Regions from separate parts of the Homo sapiens genome. Here regions 2 and 3 are each linked to region 1. The links are contacts of gene promoters, found by promoter capture Hi-C in blood cells and fetal thymus (Javierre and others, 2016). All regions are on one chromosome and are shown on one strand. The core of a region is centred on a gene start or on the middle of the fragment in contact, and the rest is flanking DNA. Distances in the headings are between cores, read along the strand shown. Region 1 holds the start of HPN (hepsin). Region 2 has its middle 5.7 kb from the start of HAUS5-DT. Region 3 overlaps ATP4A (ATPase H+/K+ transporting subunit alpha).

Evidence for each region. The method cuts DNA at HindIII sites, captures the fragments that hold promoters and counts their contacts. A CHiCAGO score of 5 or more calls a contact.
Region 2: a contact is called between a fragment that was not itself captured here and the fragment with the promoter of HPN in region 1, in 5 of 17 cell types (total B cells, activated CD4 T cells, naive B cells and 2 more). The highest score is 7.8, in total B cells.
Region 3: a fragment that was not itself captured here is called in contact with the fragment with the promoter of HPN in region 1 in 2 of 17 cell types (naive B cells and naive CD8 T cells); the score reaches 7.8 in naive B cells.

The regions. Positions count from the first base shown.
Region 1 is chr19:35,040,471-35,042,997 of GRCh38, forward strand. HPN (hepsin) reads left to right here and starts at 1,251. Exons shown (of 13, transcript NM_001384133.1): 1 at 1,251-1,402; 2 at 1,983-2,052. The coding sequence starts at 2,037. RefSeq lists an enhancer at 1-722. The HindIII fragment of the contact is 15,827 bases long and covers 1-2,527 here.
Region 2 is chr19:35,605,675-35,608,201 of GRCh38, forward strand. No RefSeq gene overlaps it. Among named protein-coding and RNA genes, the nearest start is that of HAUS5-DT, 5.7 kb to the right of the region's middle. The HindIII fragment of the contact is 3,634 bases long and covers 1-2,527 here.
Region 3 is chr19:35,554,924-35,557,450 of GRCh38, forward strand. ATP4A (ATPase H+/K+ transporting subunit alpha) reads right to left here. Exons shown (of 22, transcript NM_000704.3): 12 at 1,990-2,165; 13 at 753-889; 14 at 517-667; 15 at 243-411; 16 at 1-153. Among named protein-coding and RNA genes, the nearest start is that of ATP4A, 7.5 kb to the right of the region's middle. The HindIII fragment of the contact is 254 bases long and covers 1,134-1,387 here.

The sequences.
Region 1 (2,527 bases), core at 1-2,500:
CCCGTCACCTTCCCCCCATTCCCGTCCCCGAATCTTCGAGCCCGCTTTCCAGGGACCCTACCTGAGGGCCCACAGGTGAAGCCACTTAGTGCCTGATCTGTGTCGGGGTTGGGGGAGCCATGGGCTCAGGGGTGAGGGAGAGTGGAACGGAGCCAGGAAGGGAGGGGGTGCCGTGGAGGGAAGAGAATCGAGGCTGATGCTGGGGTGCAGGGGTGGCATGGGGTGTGTGGTGTGCCCAGCAGTGTGAGTCTCTGGAGAGGTGGGCGCTGGGGAGAAGGAGAGGGAAGGAGAGACGGGTATGGATGGAAAGGCAGAGGAAGCCAGGCTAAACCAGCGTGTCCCAATGAGGGGCCCTGGGCTGAGTGGAGGAAATGGGTGCGGTGGAGGTGGGTTTGGCTGGGCACAGCGGGCACGTGTGGGTAAGCGGGTGGGGCCGGTTGTGCGGGTGGCCTATCTGGGGCAAGCAGCCGAGGCCGACTGTGTCCGGCGTGTGGTTGAGCACGGGCAGGTGTCTGGCGGTGACCCTGCACGTCTGGTGTTTACCTGGCCCTGGGTCTGACGTGGGCCGCGCCTGGCTGCTGGCGGGACAGTGTGTTATCTGCCTGCGGACGCTTCCGGCCACTTGGCCTGGGCCTCTGCCCTTAGCGCTGTGTTTTCCCGGCCAAGCCCCCCATCCCCCCTATCTAGTGCTAGGACTTTCTGGCTCCAGAGGTCACCGCGGCCGGGCGGAGGCTGCCAAAGCAAACCAGCCCCGTGACTTGTAGGAAGCCAGCGGGGGAGGGGCCGGGGCAGGATGAGCAGGGCAGGCGGGAGAGGCTGGGGCTGGGGTTGGGGCCCAGGAATTGGGCAGGGAATTAGGCAGAGGTGCAGCAAGTGGCGGGCACAGCCAGGACCTGGGGCTGGAGGACGCAGAAAGGGCGGGGGGAAGGGTTCGCTGGGTGAGGGTGGAGTGGGCTTAGGGCAGCTGGGGCCCTCCATCTGATCTCTTCTGGTCAGACCCCCACCCTTCAGCCTGCACTTTCTCCCTAAACCCCCAGCCTCCGGCCAGGCCTGTCCCTGTTCCCACATCCCCGCAGACAGGCACACCTGGGTCCCCCTGGAGGTCCAAGGCAAGCCCCGTAGCTGGGCCCGCCTGGTCCAGCCCCCACAAGCCCGGCCCCATCAGCCAGGTGGCCTCCAGTGCTGCCAATCGAATGGTCCGGCCCCTCCCCGCCCCTTCACCCGCCCCTCGCCCAGCCCCCTCCTCCTCAGGTGAGGCAGCCTGGCCTAGCAGGCCCCACGCCACCGCCTCTGCCTCCAGGCCGCCCGCTGCTGCGGGGCCACCATGCTCCTGCCCAGGCCTGGAGACTGACCCGACCCCGGCACTACCTCGAGGCTCCGCCCCCACCTGCTGGACCCCAGGGTAAGGACAAGGGCCCCCAGACTCACAGTTCCAGCCCTGAGGACAGGGGTTCCCTCATCCCCCCACCCAGCCTAATGCCCACCTCCTAATAGAGGGGTTCCTGGGGACCTGAAGAGGGGGCACTATGACGTCCCCCCAAGCACCTAGGTGTTCTGTCCTGCTCTTCCTTCAGACTCAGCCGTTGGACCCCAGTCCTTTCCTCCCCAGACCCAGGAGTTCCAGCCCTCAGGCCCCTCCTCCCTCATACTAGGGAGTCCTGGCCCCCAAATTCCTCCTTTCCCAAGACTTATGATTTCAGGTCCTCAGCTGTCTCCTCCCTCAAACCGGGATCCTCAGTCCCCTGCTCCACCAGGCTCAGGCATGGGGGTCCCCATCCCTGCAAATCCAGGCGTCCCCCCGCTGCTGGTCAGACACTGACCCCATCCTTGAACCCAGCCCAATCTGCGTCCGTGATCACGGCGTGCTCTGGCCAAGGCCCAGTCCCTACAGCCTGCCTGGATGGACGCCTGGGACTGGGGGCGCCAGGACTGGGCTGGGCTGGGCTCCCCCAGGCCCTGCCTCCCCGTCCATCTCCTCACAGGTCCCACCCTGGCCCAGGAGGTCAGCCAGGGAATCATTAACAAGAGGCAGTGACATGGCGCAGAAGGAGGGTGAGTCCCCTTCCCTGAGCCCCAGCTTTGGCTCTGCCTGGCGCCCCGCCCTCTGTGCTCTTTTCTCTACCCTCTACTCTTCGGAGCCCCCTCTCTCTGGGCACCCCTCCCAGATGCATCCCCACCCCTGTTAGTCCTCCTCCACCTGATTAACTATTAACCACATTTTCTGTGCAGCTGTGCCACCACCAGCCTCCCTTCTACCCTATGTGACCTTCCTGGCGTGCTGCCTCAGTTTCCCCTCATCCCCCAGTGATTTCTCAGCTAACTCTGGACTTGTCCTCTGCTGGGGCTGAGGCGGGGAAGCTGTAGCTGTCATGGTTAAGGACACAGATTTGGAGTGAAACACACAGGCTTGCATTTGAATTTGCTCTTGCCATCTTTTTTGCTGTGTGATCTGGTGCAAGTGACATTATTCTTAGGGCTTTGGTCTCCCTCTGGGTCAAGCATGGATACCAGTCCTCCCTCTGTGAGG
Region 2 (2,527 bases), core at 17-2,516, 570 kb after region 1:
GGTGACAGAGTAAGACTCCATCTCAAAAAAAAAAAAAAAAAAAAAAAAAAGTGAATATGGGATGTTACTACACATGTGCTGTACCTTCCCTTCATGAATATTCATAGCTCCTCCTATAACCTGTTGAATATGTATACTGAGCCAAGCCATTCAGCGTTAACTCTGACCTTATCCTTCCCTTACTGGAGGTGCCTGCTCTCAGCTTCTACCGGAGGCTACACTTCTCGGCCTGTGAGATGGCCCGGCTGCAGGCTGCAACTCTTTATGAGAAATAAAGCTCTCCTTTCCAAATTTGTAAACCTGTATTAGTCTGTTCTCACGCTGCTGAAAAGAACTGCCCAAGACTGGGTAATTTATAAAGGAAAGAGGTTTAATTGACTCACAGTTCCGCAGGGTTGGGGAGGCCTCAGGGAACTTAAAATCATGGTGGAAAAGAAAGCAAAAACGTCCTTCCTCAGATGGCAGCAGGAAGGAGAAGTGCCAAGCAAAGAGGGAAAAGCCCCTTATAAAACCATCAGATCTCGTGAGAACTCACTATCTCAAGAACAGCAGCATGGGGGTAACCACCCCCATGATTCGATTACCTCCCACTAGGTCCCTCCCACAACACATGGGGATTTGGGGAACTACAATTCAAGATGAGATTTGGGTGGGGACAGCCAAACCATATCAAAACCTCATGATTCTTCAGTTGACATCTAATCTGAGCTACCATGGTCTATCAAAAAACCACAGCTCTTGAGGGGATCTCAATGGCTGTTAACAAACTGGTTAGAGTTCTGGTCAGGTTCTGATTGTAGAGAGCCTCTGTAACAGATATGGATTGCCTCCTTCCCCCCACCCTCCTTGTTATTTTTATTTCATTTTATTAAATTTTTTTTTGAGACAGGGTCACACTATGTCACCCAGACTGGAATGCAGTGGCACAATCTCAGCTCACTGCAACTTCTGGCTCCCAGGTTCAAGTGATTCTCATGCCTCAGCCTCCTGAGTAGCTAGGACTACAGGTGCATGCCACCATGCCCAGCAAATTTTTATATTTTTTGTAGAGACAGGGTTTTGCCATGCTGCCCAGACTGGTCTCAAACTCCTGAGCTCAACCAATCTGTCTGCCTTGGCCTCCCAAAGTGCTGGGATTATAGGCGTGAGCCACTGTTCCCAGCCATGATTTTTATTTAACAAATACTCATTATTTAACAAATACTTTCTGAGCACCTACTGTGTCCCAGGCATTGTCTTGGGAACGAGGAACACAACGGAGCAAGAGAAGTAAGGCCAACTTCTTCTCTGATGGAGCTTACATTCTAGTGGGAAAGAAAACTATAAACAAGTATACCCAAAAATAAACAAGATAATTACAGGGAATGGTAAATGCTATAGAGAAAAATAAAACAGAATAAGAAGCTAAAGTGGTGCCAGGACTGGTCCAGCAACTATTATGGTGTTGGGAGCAAGCCCCCCAAAATATGGCCATAAACTGACCCCAAGACTGGCCACAAACAAAATCTCCACAGCACTGTGACATGTTCATAATGGCCCTAACGCCCAAGCTGGAAGGTTGTGGGTTTACGGGAATGAGGGCAAGGAACACCTGGCCCGCCCAGAGTGGAAAACCACTTAAAGGCATTCTTAAGCCACAAACAATAGCATGAGCGATGTGTGTCTTAAGGACGTGTTCCTGCTGCAGTTAACTAGCCCAACCTATTCCTTTAATTCGGCCCATCCCTTCGTTTCCCATAAGGGATACTTTTAATTTAATATCTATAGAAACAATGCTAATGACTGGTTTGCTGTTACTAAATATGTGGGTAAATCTCTGTTCGGGGCTCTCAGCTCTGAAGGCTGTGAGACCCCTGATTTCCCACTTCACACCTCTATATTTCTGTGTGTGTGTGTTTAATTCCTCTAGCACCAGTGGGTTAGGGTCTCCCCAACCGAGCTGGTGTCTGCAATGGTGTGCCACCAGATAAGTACGGAAATTGCCAGCAAGTGTTTAGAAACACAGCAATTTGACATATCCATGACATCCAAGTATAGGATCAATGGATTTTCTTGTTGAACAGGGTAGAGACCAAAAGGATTGGTCCATGACAGGTTGGAAACATCAAACAAATGATCCTTCTCCATAGTTACAAGTAGTTTGAGATACACTGAGCTAGTGGGCAATGATGTCTACAAGGTATATTATTTAGAGTCATGCTAGCTGCTATAACAAATAAACCCCACCATTTCAGTAGCTCACAAAATAAAAGTTCTTTTTTTTTTTTTTTTTGAGACGGAGTTTCACTTTTGTTGCCCAGGCTGGAGTGCAATGGCACGATCTCAGCTCACAACAACCTCTGCCCCCTGGGTTCAAGCGATTCTCCTGCCCCAGCCTCCCAAGTAGCTGAGATTACAGGCATGCACCACCACACCCGGCTGATTTTTTTGTATTTTTAGTAGAGACGGGGTTTCTCCATGTTGGTCAGGCTAGTCTCAAACTCCTAACCTCAGGTGATCCACCTGCCTCAGCCTCCCAAAGTGCTGG
Region 3 (2,527 bases), core at 11-2,510, 510 kb after region 1:
TGTCAGTGCAGAGTTCGATGAAGAGGATGGTGATGCACCCGAGGGGCAGGGGCACGCTGACGGTGATGTAGATGAGGTAGGGTGTCAGCTCTGGGATGTTCTTGGTCAATGTGTAGGCAATAGACTTCTTCAGGTTGTCGAAGATCAGTCGACCTGTGGGGTAGGGTGGGCACCTCAGCCTCCTCACAGCCCTCTCCCTCCTGTGCCCACACTGCCTGCCCTCCCCCTGGCGTGGCTCGGACCCTGCTCCACGCCTGTCACAATGGAGGCAAAGTTGTCATCCAGCAGGATCATGTCAGCTGCATTTTTGGCAGCATCTGAGCCAGCGATGCCCATGGCTACTCCGATGTCTGCCTTCTTCAGAGCTGGGGAGTCATTCACACCATCCCCCGTGACGGCCACAATCGCACCCTGCAGGCAGTGGGTGCAGGTGGTGGGTGGGTGGTCAGTGAGAGGCCGGTCCAAGACCAGCCCCGCCTGTCTGCCCGCCTGCCCACCCTCATCAGCAGGGCTCACCAGCCGCTGGCAGCTCTCCACGATCACCAGCTTCTGCTGGGGGCTGGTGCGCGCAAACACCATCTCGGGGTGGGTGCGCAGGGCCTCGACCAGTTCCGATGGGTCCATGTCCTTCAGCTGCATGCCATTGATCACACAGGCACGGGCATCCCTGGGGAGGAGATGGGAGGACCTCGCTGGGACCTCGGTCTGTGCCAGATGTGGGGAGAACCCCGGGGAGGTCTGGGGGGGCTTACTTGCGATTAACCTGGTCTACGGGCACACGGAGGCGGGCAGCGATGTCCTCCACTGTCTCGCTGCCTTCCGAGATGATGCCCACACTGGCTGCAATGGCCTTGGCGGTGATGGGGTGGTCACCCGTTACCATGATCACCTGTAGGGGGAACCAGTGGATCACTGACCCCTTCAGATCAGCCCAATCTCCCTGTCCTCCCTGGGAGACATCTGCTGATACACGTGTTCATTTACTTGACCAAGCGTGACCACCTCCTACGTGCCTGGGATATAGCAGAGACAAAAGAGACAAAAATCCCTGTCCTTGAGGAGCTCTAGTGAGGGTGACAGAAAATAAAGAAACGAATTATATAGTGTGTTAGAAAGTGGAAAAAAACATATTAAGCTTGGTGAAGGAAACGGTGACTCGATTTTAAGTGTACCCAGGGAAGGGCTTATTGAGAAGGTGATATCTGAGCAGAGACCTGTAAGAGGTGAGAGAGTCAGCCACGTGGAAAGCTGGGAGAAGAGTGCTCCTGGCAGGGAGAACAGCAGGTGCAAAGGCCCTGAGGTGAGGACAGGCCCGAACTGTCGGAGGAACAGCAGGGAGGACACCATAACTGCAGAGGAGTGAACAAGGAAAGAGGGCTAACGAACAAGCTTAGAAAGGTAACAAGGCCCGATGTAACAGGGCCGTAGAGACACGGGAAGGGCTTGGGCATTGCCTGCCTGGCCTTGGCTTTCCCACCCTTGTTTTGTGTTTGGGGAACCACTCCTCTCCCCTACACCATCAGTTGCAGTGAGGTCCCTGGCTAAGATTGGGTAAGTAAGCCCAGACCTGGCCAATCAAGGTCTTCCATCCCCCAGCCCCAGTGACTGGCTCAGGGATAAATGAGTGACCCAATCCAGTGCTACTGCAAAAGAGGCACTCTCTTTTTGTGGGGTGGCTAAGCAGGTGGGAGTTAAGTTTGAGCTGCTGGAGCAGGGGTGTGTGTGTCCCCAAGTGAAGGGAGTGCCTGCAAATAAAGCCAGCAAAGAGAACAGCAGAGCTGAGACATGGAGAAAGGAAAATTCCTAATGACACTGAGCTCCTGGATCTGGCTAGACCTGAAGCTTAATTCCCCAGAATTTTTCAGTATCATAAACCAATGCATTTTGGTTCAAGCCAGTTTCAGGTGGGTTTGTCATGGGGTTCTTCAACCCAAATCCTGCTGCCATCCTCTGTCCTCACTCCACTTGTTCCTCCCCACAGTGGCATACCCGGATGCCTGCGGTGCGACACTTGAGCACAGCATCAGGGACGGTGGCCCGGGGTGGGTCAATCATGGATACAAGTCCCGCAAAGCAGAGGCCGCTAGATGGAAAGTTCATGGCCTCTACGTCGAAGGCATAGCCAGGCGGGTAGTCCTTCTCATTCAGGTAGAGCTGGCAGAAGCCTGACCGGAAACGGGGAAGTCAGGGAAGAGCCCTGGGCACACCCTTTCTTAGCAGGGCCAGGAAATGGGTAAAATAACCAGGCCCCTTGCACCAAACACCTATGGATGCCTGACCTTGTGCTGACCCCTTCACTCACATTATCTGAATCTACCCTCACAACCACCCTGTGAGGCCCATTCTCATCTTACAGATGAGGAAACTGAGGCTCAGAGAGGGGACATTTCTTGCCAGAGGTCACACAGCAAGTAAAAGGCCCAGAATTGGACCACAGATCTGCTTTCTAGGGTAGAGGCAGCGAAGTTTAAGGCGTCAGGACAAAAATTGGGAGAGGTTAGAGGTCAGGATACGGATAAAAGTCCAG